Linked DNA regions of Homo sapiens: all the other regions are linked to region 2. Evidence: promoter capture Hi-C in human tissues and cell types (Jung and others, 2019). All regions are on one chromosome and are shown on one strand. The core of a region is centred on a gene start or on the middle of the fragment in contact, and the rest is flanking DNA. Distances in the headings are between cores, read along the strand shown.

Evidence for each region. The method cuts DNA at HindIII sites, captures the fragments that hold promoters and counts their contacts. A contact is called where the count stands out against the background at its distance.
Region 1: a contact is called between a fragment that was not itself captured here and the fragment with the promoter of PTPRG in region 2, in 1 of the 25 tissues and cell types used here (thymus).
Region 3: a contact is called between a fragment that was not itself captured here and the fragment with the promoter of PTPRG in region 2, in 1 of the 25 tissues and cell types used here (thymus).

Annotation. Positions count from the first base shown.
Region 1 is chr3:60,741,696-60,745,372 of GRCh38, reverse strand. All of the region lies in intron 4 of FHIT (fragile histidine triad diadenosine triphosphatase), which reads left to right. Among named protein-coding and RNA genes, the nearest start is that of MIR548BB, 130 kb to the right of the region's middle. The HindIII fragment of the contact is 4,055 bases long and covers 1-3,677 here.
Region 2 is chr3:61,559,059-61,562,906 of GRCh38, reverse strand. It overlaps PTPRG (protein tyrosine phosphatase receptor type G), which reads right to left and starts at 1,336. Exons shown (of 30, transcript NM_002841.4): 1 at 535-1,336. The coding sequence starts at 619. RefSeq lists an enhancer at 2,559-3,234. The HindIII fragment of the contact is 9,021 bases long and covers 1-3,848 here.
Region 3 is chr3:60,836,544-60,840,496 of GRCh38, reverse strand. All of the region lies in intron 3 of FHIT (fragile histidine triad diadenosine triphosphatase), which reads left to right. Among named protein-coding and RNA genes, the nearest start is that of MIR548BB, 220 kb to the right of the region's middle. The HindIII fragment of the contact is 4,995 bases long and covers 1-3,953 here.

The DNA.
Region 1 (3,677 bases), core at 724-3,223, 820 kb after region 2:
TGGTCTTTATTCAGTCCTTATGTTTACTGCTCAGCCTCACGGCAAGGCCTTTGAGTGTTTGATTCCCGCTGCCTATGATGCTTTTCCCCTGGCTTTAAATGTCAGCTCAAGTACTGTTTCTTCTGAGACAAATTATCTGCCACCCCATATCTAGACGAACTCTTTGTAATAGAGCCTCCTAGTACCAAAATACTTCTTATACACCTTTCAGAGGGTCAGTTTTATATTTGTGAGATCTTTTGATTAGTAGCTTCCTTTTCTCTGGACTTGCTTTTTTCCCCCTTTTTGTGGAGAATGGGGTCTTCCTATATTGCCCTGGCAGGTCTCAAACTCCTGGGCTCATGCTATCCTCCCGCCTCTGCCTCCCTAAAAGCTGGGATTACAGGTGTGAGCCACTGCACCCAGCCCCTCTGGACTTCTAAGGACAGGGACTATGGTTGTTTTGACTCACCTTGATATCCCCGTCACTCAGCACAATGCTTGGTGCTTAAAAGGTACCTAATAAATATGGATTACATGATTGGCCAAATAAATAAATTCAATACAAGTTTAATCAGAAGATGGGCCTTACCTTGTCATTGAGGGATTTATCTAGTTAAGAATTCCAGATGAATCTCTATCAGAACAGCCAACAGAGAAAATGTATTCAGATGCAGGAAGGCTAGAAGGCAGCCTGTAGCAGCAACTACACCCATTTCACTCTGTATTGGGTCAGGCAAGACTTCATTAACAACTGTTCAAAATGCAGGACACCATTGATGGTAATGGTTTTGGTTAGATGTGGGGACAATCTCTCTGGGACTGCAGGAAGGTTGTTCTACTGTTACAGGGCTCACAACTATAAAGTGTAAATTATTCTCTCCTGTTTCTCTGTTTTTGAGGGACTTGTCATGGATCCCCTATTAGAACAAAGTTGTGGACACTTAGCAAGTTGTGTATAAATGAGCTTTCGTTGTTTTCACTGATCCATCCCAATTAGTTCCCCTACTTGTCTGCATGCTATCTGCCTAAGGAAATGTGAAATATCTTATTTGCAAGGAGAGATGGAATTCTTGTGCATATAGGTTTTTTTCTTTTCTTTTCTTTCTGTTTTTTTTTTTTTTTGTTTTGTTTTGTTTTTTTTTTTACATTACTTCCAATTTGCAAAGGAGAGAAGTAAACAGTTTGCATAGGGAAAACGCGTTTTTCGTCAGTAGACTGCTGTGGACGGCAAGAGAGAGGAGCTTTACCAGGCATTGAAATAGTAGCTTTTGTGGTCTCAGGTCAGAGCATCGCTCTGTGTCTCTAGGCAGATTTGGTTTAAGGCCAAAACAAATAGCCCCCCTTCCTTGGGTTCTGACCCCTGGGGGCAGAAAAGGGAACTAAGCTAGTCCAGCTGCCACTGCAGGGGAAGTCATTGTTCTCTCCAACCTTCTGGGAGCTCCAAATAATTAACTGTGCAAAGAGCAAGTTGGAATCAGAATTCTCCTCCAGGGTTTTCTGTGTCCAGCCAAACAGAGCGAGCTGAGCTGAGAGACAAAAAAACCCCGTGAAAGAGAACCAGCGCTGAGTCTCCTTTCTCCTTCCTTGCTTCAGTTCTGGTCCCCTGGACCTGTGTCCTCAGCTACCTCATCTCTCTTAATTCCTCCAGGCCCCTCATCATGTGTAGCCAGAGGGAGATTTTTCTTAATGAGAAGAGCCAGCAGGCCACTCTCCAGTGGAAGGTTGGTGCTTTGGGACTTAGAAGGCTTGGCATGTGGACAGAAATCTCCCTTACTCTCAGAATTTCTGATGTTTTCAAAGAGAAGCCAGAAATCTGGACTGTGGTGTGAAGTCATCCAAGTTTAAAATGTTTGCTCTATGTTTTGTGTTTATACACAAGGTGCAGGCCAAACAAAACACATTTTTCCTACCTCTGAACTAGACCATAAGCTTCCTGGAGGTGCAGATTGTGTTGATCTTGTTTGCTCTGGTATTACCCAGGACCTAGCACAGTACCTGCTGCATAATAGCAGTTCAACATCTATTGACCTGCATCCCTAGGAGACTCACTATGCTGTCATTCCCTTGATATTAATGACAATAAAGTACAACAATAATTAGATCAATGACTTTTTACTGAGCACATGTTAAGTGCTTTATATATAATTTGATCTGCATTATGACCTTAGAAGCTGTGTATTCTCACTTTGCAAATAGAGAAAGCAGCTCAGAGCCTAAAAATGTGACCTCAGCCAGTTGCCCAGCTGCAGTGTAGATTCTGATTCAAGCAGCACTGTGTCCGAAGCCAGGGTTTGCAATCCTAATGCCACAGTGCCTCCCGCTCTGTTCTGCTGATTCCCGCCAGAGGGAGCAAGGGTGAACTCTCCTAGCGTTAGCTCTTCCAAAAGGGAGAACCAAGCCTGGGTGTTGTCAACTTGCCTTCAGGGCAGACCTTTGAAAGGATGAATATGGTCAGTAGGTATTATTTTCCTTCTGCATAGCATTGAAAAACGTTCCTACTTTTCCATCTCCATCTCTTTATGAGGAACTACTCTGCAGGGGACTTCGATTAGTTGTGATTGTCATGGTATACTGTCATTTGATATCCTTAAGCGCTACAGAACAGTCCATATTTAGGCATCTTCTGAGGACTCAGGGGCAGTCTGAGCTGAGGTTCACAGAGTCATTGTTTGGTGTCCTTAACTAAATGCAAAAGTGGTGACTCATTACCAACTTAGGATACAATCAAACGCATGGGTTCCTAAAAGCAGAATGCTGGTTGTAGCCTGCTGGTCATGAAATACATTTTTTTCTTGTGGTGCAAATACTTTATTACAGGTAGTGAAGTGTTAGAACATTATTCTATGAGAGACACAAAAGCCTAATTTTACAAAGTGGGGTAGCTACCATTTGATGGGCTTATATTTGTTAATGGTCTCAGCTATTGGGAGAGACTTTTAATCAGGAGAAATGGACAGTAGGAATGAAGAATATAGACCTTCAGAAAAACTGAACATGCTCTTCCCCTGCTTTCTATGTGGGCAATGTCTCAATGTCTCTTTTGATTTTTCCAGGCTATCATCCTGGTGTGAAGCCCATTTACTCTTTCACTAAATTTTTCTCTGATAGAGGAAGGTTTTGCAAGCTGGACTATTGGAAGTGAAAAGTAGCTTTTTAAGGACATTCGTTGTAATTAGCATCATAATTTCACTTACTGAGGCATCATTTAAGAATTTTGCACTCATTCCCTCATGTGGTCCTTTCTAAGACCTTGTGACACTCCCCTACTTCCCCGCTATTTTACAGATGAGGAAACAAGCTCAGAGTGCCCCAAATCACACAGCTGATAAGTAGCAATGTCTGACTATTGTTTCAAGTACGGTTCATGCATCAGAATATCCTGGGAAACTTCTAGACATTAAGTAAAGCTTCCTGAGTTGCAACCTTCTGACCTGCTGTCTTAATTGGAGGGGAGCCTGGGAATCTATTTTTCAAAAGTCCCCCAGGTCACTGTGATGTACAGTCAGACTTGGAAAACATTGCCATATATTATACCATACATTATACCACACTGAAATAAATCAAAGTACAGATTCAGTTTGGAAATTTCAATGGTTGCTTTTTCTGGTCCAACACAGCCATCCCCACTTGTGCCTGAGGGCTACAGAAAGTGCTTTTCAAAGGAGGTACATTTTGCTAGATCCTAATGAATGGAT
Region 2 (3,848 bases), core at 87-2,586:
CCTCAGTCCTCCGCAGCCAGCCTCCGACTTCCATTCCCCGAAACCTAGCCCTCCCAAAGGGATGGAGAACAGCAAAGCAAACCCCCACCTTCTGAGTTCCTTCAATACCCGCCAGAGCGAGGGGGCTCATCCCGGGCCCCCCAAACCCACAGAAGCATCCTTTCCATGGCCTCAGTCTCCCCAACCGCCCCACAACTCGAGTTCTCCCGATCGGCGACGAGTCAGCAAAGCAAGTCCCCCTTTCTCCCGATTCCAGCTCCCCAGGACCCCCAAAAGGGAGCGGGAGCAGACCCCCGCGTCCCCCAGCCCCCTCCCCGGCCAGCCCCTGCCTCCACCTTCCTCGACCACTAGCCTGCCTCCCTAAACATCATCCAAGCCAGCGGAGCAATCCTTTTCTCCTATCCGGGCGCCGGGCCACCCTCCACCCTCTCCAGGGTCTCCCGGACGGGCGCCGGAGCTCCGCGCCCAGGCGACAACTCCGCATCCCCAACGCGCGCCGGCCGGGGCCGCATCCCCTCGGCGGCCGGCACTCACCGGGGAAGCACACGACATAATGGAGCACGGAACTGGTGATTTTCAGGAACAAAATCCACCAACACGGTTCCAGTAACCTCCGCATGTCCGAAAACGCACATCGAAAAGAGGAAAGCAGGGAGGTAAACTTGTTGAATAAGTTCTTGCCTCCGTGCGAGCCTCCGCTAAGCCGGGGCGCTTCCCCGGCTCGCCCGCTCCACGGGCCCCCCGCGCTCGGCGGCCCGAGTCCCCTTGGAATCCGGGAAGCCGCCGAGCGCCCCCCGGAAAATCTCAAAAAGTGACCGGGAACGCAGAGCCACGCTGGGGACGATCCTCTCGGCGGAGAAAGGCTGCTTTCCGTTTAAAAAGGAGAGAGCCGATCGGGCAGGGCGCGGAGTCGGCGGCCGGCGGCGATGCCCCGGGCCTGGGGCAGGCAGGGACCGCGGGCGGCGGCGGCGAGCAGCCGAGGATCCCCAACTTGAGTCGGCAGCGCAGCACAGCCCGAGAGCCGGCGGGCGGCGGCGGGGCTGAGCGCGGCGCGGCGTCTCCGGGCTTCAGGCAGGCAGCTCCTTCCAGGGCCCCGGGAAGGAAGGAGGCATGTTTGCGAGAGGGGAAGGGGAGGGGAGAGGCAGGGGGAGCGGAGAGCCCCCCAAAATAGAAACGGCCGGAGGAAACGGAGGAAAACACAAAGGATCTCAGAGGGGCGCTGGGGCGAGGGCGCCTTCAGTCCATGCTCCTGAAAGTTGTGGCTCCGGCGCAGGCTGGGAAGGAACGAAGAGCGCGGGGCTGGAAACTGGCCATGCCTCCATACAGGAAGTAACATGTGAGCATGGATCCTGGCAGAGACTTTAAAGCCGGCGAGCGAAGGAGCGAGCGAACAGGGGGCGCGCGGTGGCGGCGGGGGCGCGCAGCCCGGGCCAGCTGGCGGCGGGCGCGCGCTCTCCGCGTTCTTAAAGCAGCCGCGCTTGGCTCCCGCCTTGCGCTGGGTCCCTCGGCTCTGCTCTCTCCGCGCGGCCTCTACTGGGACAGTTTGGGGACTGGGGGCGATTGTAGCCCGTGCGCGGAGAGAGGAGGGAGGCTGCCTTCTGGGGCCGGCTTGTTTTTTGCTGGATTCCCGTTGTTCGAGCTCTTAAAAGACGCCGCACGGTGCTCGGGTTTGGCGAGATCCTCCGCGCAGCTCGCGGATCCCGGACTTGAGGGGCCCCTCGCCCTGGCGAGGGGAAAGGGGGAGGGCGGACAGCTGCCTTTTTAAAGCGATGGGGTTTTCTGTTCGGCTTCACTGCCCTGGCATTTGCAGCGGTGAGGCTCACCGTCTGCGGCTCCTGTTCGCGCCTCCAACACAGCGCATTCCCCCGCCGGGAAACAAAGCCGAGCGGCCTTTGCACTCCGGCTACATTGAGATTTAATTTTTTTTTTTTTTCTTTTTCGGGCTTTCATTGGCCCAGTCCAAGGCTGGGGAAAGTGGGGGAGGGGAGGAATGTCGATCCCAGGATTGCGAAATCTAGCCCTTCCGAGCCCCGCATCCCCTTTCCCGGCGCCACGATGGATCGGTGGCGGAGTTTCCCCAACTCGCAGCTTCTCTGGAGAAGGTTCCCGCACCCCGGTTTGGCCGCGGGGAGGGCGCAGGAAGTGCGCCTCTTACACCCTGCAGGGTGAAAGCAGCGCCGCGGGGCCGGACTGATTTCCTGGCAGCTACCCGGGGAGCGGCTGCTTCTTTAGCAATCGGGGAGAGGCGTCCGGGGGAAATGGGAGGACTAGGCTTATCTGTAATGAGTTTTGTCCCTTGGCTCTCGGTAAGAAGATCTTTATCGCTTAGACTTCTAAGCGCCCTATTTTACATTCTTAACGCTGGGGCTAAAAGTGGGGGAGGCGGGCTTTCGAGTAAATGTGTAACTGAGCCAAGGTAATTAGCCGTTTGACATTTTTTGCCTAATTTTTCTGCCTGTGTTTCAAAGCGATCTTGACGTGGGATTGTTTTGTTTTGTTTTGAGACGGAGTCTCGCTCCGTCGCCCAGGCTGGAGTACAGTGGCTCGATTTCGGCTCACTACAACCTTCGCCTCCCGGGTTCGGGCGATTCTCCTGCCTCAGCCTCCCGAGTAGCTGGGACTACAGGCGCCCGCCACCACGCCCGGCTGATTATTTTTTTGGTGGTTTTTTTTGTTTGTTTTTTGTTTTATTTTGGTTTTTTTTGTAGAGGCGGGGTTTCACCGTTTTGGCAAGGCTGGTCTCGAACTCCTGACCTTGTGATCCGCCTGCCTCAGCCTCCCAAAGTGCTGAGATTACAGGCGTGAGCCACCGCGCATGGTTCTTGTGTTTTAAACGTGTCCCTGCTGTTTCATCCCAACACGGCAGGGTCCTCCACCCACCCAAACATCCCAACCGGATGCTAGGTTTTCAAATAAAGTACAGATGGTCGGAGATCCTCCCGTTCGATGTGATTAAGGAAGCATTTTCACACCCACACTTCCAAAAGAAAAACCTTTGAAAAGTTACGTATGGGATTACAAACTAATAAAAGCCAGGAAGTTCCTGGGGAGGGCCCTAGCTCTATCTTTAGCAGAACGGGGGTGAACACCCTCCCCCAGGGTGGGGAATGAGGCGAGTTTGTTTGCTTTGGAATGTGGTCCTTCCTGGTTTTATTGGAATCCTGACTTCTTTATAAAGGATTGCGAGGGCCATTTTTCTTGGAAGTGTTGTAATGAGGGATATTCGTTCCTCAAGTTAGATTACCCCAGCATCCCTGACTACCTTCTTAATGTCGAGTGATAAAATAGGAAAAACTCGTCAAATACTTGTGTCAGCGTCCTCAGGTGAGGTTTCCTCCTCTGTGAAATGGACAGTAAAAGCTGTCCTTTGTGGAATGCTTACTGTCTACCAGGCATTGTGCTGAATTCATGCCATAAACTGCTTGCTCATTCAACAAATGTATTGAGCACCTACTGTTTGAGGGACACACTGGGAACACAGCCTCGAACAAAAAGGGCAAGCCCCCATGCCTTATGGGAGCATACCTTCCTAAGTCCATGCTCCGTTCTCTCATGGAGTTCTTAAAATACTGCCAGCTGTGAGAATTATTTTCCCCATTTAATAGACAAGGAAACATGCTCAGAAGAGTACAATGATGGATCCTCAGCTAGTGGGCAGCAGAGCTGAGATTCTCAACCCAGGCCTGTTTGCCTCCACAGCTGTGATTCAAGGCAACAGAATAATGGCTTGAGAAGGCACCAAAATGTGGAATGTAAAAAAAGAGCTTCAGAGTCGGGGAAAACCTCATATGGGTTTGCAGAGTGAATTACCACTACCTTAGTAGTGTAGGAGGCCCCATGCTAAAACT
Region 3 (3,953 bases), core at 1,142-3,641, 720 kb after region 2:
TCTCACAAGGAAAACTGGGGACTTTGTAGGAATAACTTTTCACCTCTGCAGAATTGATTCATTCACATGTCAAGTTCATCGCAGAATATGGGGCTGGCAAACATGCGGACTGTAGTTCATATTCTTAAAGCCCACTTATTTTAGAACAGCAGTCATAGAGAGAAAACAAAAAACAAAAGATACATCATGAAAGATGTGAAAATTAGAAGAAAAATCATCTTTATTAGCAAAGGAATGCCTCCCAATTTCCTCCCTATCTGCATATATCCTGGCCTGCCTGGGTGAGGATTTTTGGCTCCTTCCTCGCTGTCTATTGTATTCTAGTTCACACCTTCATTTCTGATGGGCCACTTTCATGCTTGTTTTTCTGTTTTTAAAAATGTGTCATTTCTTTCAAGGCCTTTAGGCTCTGAAGATATCTTTCCTCTAAAGAGGACTGAGTGCTAGAGAGCTCCTCACGGAGCTGAAGGACCCTCGCCACCGGGTCTAAATAAGATCAAGTCCCCTCTGAGAGGCAGCATGAAGGTGGCATGCAGTTTTAAAAAAAAAATAGTTGGACTGTAAAGGAAATAAAGACGTAGTTAAATAAGCCCTTATGTTATCACATAGACACTTTTTATTCTTCTGTTTATTTTTTTCTGTGTTTTTCTGAAACTACTTTTCACCAGAAGTGCGATAGCAGTTATGTAAATGCAGAAATCTATTCCATTTCATGTCTAGAGCCAACTCTAGATGCTTCTAAGGGGGTGGGGTGAGCTATGTGGCTGGGCAGAGGGTCAGCATAATAAACGGGAGAGGGAGAGGGACAACAAATGAGCTGCAGTCCCTAGAGGTCTTTGGGGACTGGGCATTTCTGGGGCATCGAATGTGAACTTGACATACTGTATGTAAATCTGATTTTTTTTTCTCAGCCACTGTCATTGGAAAATTTTCATTTAGTAAATAATGCAAAATATACATTAAGAAATGTTAATGTTTTGACAGACACTGACAAATGCCAGGGAATCAGAAGCAACAGGAAAGCTGAAGCACTTCACTGAATGTGCTGCCATCTAGCCATGATCTCATTGCATGCTGCTTCACTCACTGGTCACAGAGACACTGAAGTCATTCGGCAGGCAGGATGGAGTGTGTGTAAAATGGAGTGTAGAAGGCAGGGAATCGGCTGAGTCTTTTACTTTTATTGGCCATTAACACATCCTACCAGTCCATAAACTAAATTTTGATACGTATTAGACTAAAGATAATGTTAATAATTCATGGAAAAGCTACTTTAAAAAGAGTGTTATAGTAGCAATCATTGCTTTAAATATTACACTCACCATTTTCGTCTGTTCGGTAGCTCCTCGTGGTACACAGGATAAAGTTTACTCCTTAGTAGAGGATGAGGCCCTCTAGCCCAGCATCCTTCCCTTAGCTGTCTTTTCTACTGCATCTCTTGCTTGTTCCAATGGGTGTTCTATACCTCAGCCAGGCATTCAGTCTCACAGATTCTCAAATGTACCATCTTTTCCGCTTTTCTCAGGGCTTTCGTGCTGGGTTCCCCTTCACCCAGGAAGTCCTTTTACTACCTAACTTTCAGAACCTGGTTCACACATCTCTGAGAAGTTTTCACTGATTCTCTCAAGCAGTGCTGATTCTCTCTGTGTGTCAGCATCGTGACAAGTACATACCTGCATTTTTGCACTTATCACACATTATTGTAATTATTTTTCACATGTTTATTTTTTCTGCCAGAATCAGTTTCTTGTAGCCTGGTGACATTTAAATTCGATAGGATCCGGTTTATTGTATATTTTTTTAGCTCTTCCTACATGTATTATTTTTGAGTTTCTGCTGAGACTCAGGAACTTAAAGCTTTCAAAGTCCTGAATGCAGATAACAATCAACAGTCAAGCCAGTATCCTATTGCCTGTGAAAATATCCTCAGGAATAAAGGGGAAGTAAAAATATTATCAGATGAAGGAAAACTAAGAGAATTTGTGTTTTTTGTTTGTTTGTTTGTTTGTTTTTGTTTTTGTTTTTGAGACGGAGTCTTGCTCTGTCGCCCAGGCTGGAGTGCGGTGGCGCGATCTCGACTCACTGCAAGCTCTGCCTCCCGGGTTCAAGCGATTCTCCTGCCTCAGCCTCCTGAGTCGCTGGGACTACAGGCGCCCACCACCACGCCCGGCTAATTTTTTGTATTTTAGTAGAGACGGGTTTCACCGTGTTGCCCAGGTTCGTCGCGAACTCCTGAGCTCAGGCAATCCGCCTGCCTCGGCTTCCCAAAGTGCTGGGATTACAGGCGTGAGCCACCACGCCCAGCCGGAAAACTAAAAGAATTTGCATAATTGCATCACTGCACTCTCCAGCCTGGATGACACGGTGAGACTCTGCCTCGAAAGAAAAGAAAAGAGTTATCTAATTGGAAAGAAGACAATTAAAAATGGATCTCTTCAACATCAGAAAGGAAGAAAAAAACATAGCAAAAACATTTGTACTCTTGAGAGCTCTAATTGTGTTTGAAGTTTGAAGCAAAAATTGCAATATTCTGATGTGGATGTAAATGCATGTAAAGGAAGTATTTAAAATAATTATATTATAAATGGGGAAGATAAAGGGATGCAAAGTGCGGAGATAGGGTTTCTATATGTTACTCAAACTGGTAAAATGATGACACCAGTAAACTGTTTAGTTATAAATATATAAAGTAATACCTAGAGAAACCTTTAAAAAATTATATACAGAAATGCACTGAAAGACACTTTAGATAAATCAAAACAGAATTCCAAAAAGTGTTCAAATAGCTTATAAGAAGTCTGGGCAAAGAAAACAGAAAACCACAAAGAGAACAAACAGAAAATAAACAAAAAATAAAATGGCAGTGTAAATTCTAAAATATCAATAATTACATTAAAGTTAAATGGTCTAAATATACCACTTATAATACAGGGAAGAGATTAGCAGAATTGTTTAAAAAATATGACCCAACTATATTCTGTCTATGAGAAGCTCACTTTCAATATAACAATAGACGAAAGTAAAATAATGGGAAAAGATGTATCATGCAAACTTTAATCAAAGGAAAACAAGAGTAGCTGGTTCTTTGAAAAGGTTAATAAAACTGACAGTCTAGCAAGACTGACAAAGAAAAGAGAAAAGACACAAATTACCAATATTGTAACTAGGCAACTTAACTTCCAAATGCATTTTAAAACATTTTTTTCTCTTCTCTTGGTTTTCAAGATACAACCTTGAAAAACTGCAGAAGCCTTTTCCTCAGCCTAGAAATAGGCTCCACGTCCCTCCCTTTTTCACCATATATACTCCCTTCACATTTGTCTAAGTATATACTAGTATCTAATTACTGTGCCTTCTTAGAAGTTCCAGGGGCTAATCTTGAGACAGGCGGAATAAGCTTGGAGACCCAGCTGCAAAATTCCAGAGATTACTTCAAAGTGGCTAGTTAAAAACCTGGCCATGGCTGCTCAGGAACTTAAAGCATTCAAAGTCCTGAATGAAATAATAATCAACAATCAAAGCAGTGTCCTACAGCCCGTGAAAATATCCTCAGGAATAAAGGGGAAGTAAAGATATTCCCAGATGTCTTGACTCACCATCCAGGTAGACTGAGACCCAAGATAGCTACCAGAACAAGACACACAGATATTATACTTAGTACAATTCTTGCATGCCTTCCTTATCAAGTTTTCCCTTTTTAAACCCCTGCCTTCCCCCAAAATCAAAGTGATTGCTTTGGGCGGGAATCTGACCATTTCCCCTTTACTGGTTTTAGTAAAATGACTTTCTTTCTACTAGACCTCACTCTTGTTAACTGGACTCTGTAAACAGTGGGCATCTGGACCTGCATTTGGTTACAATATCAGGAATGAAAGAGGAGATATCACTATTGACCCTGTAGACATCAAAAGGATAATAAAGAAATGCCATGAACAACTCTACACACATAAATT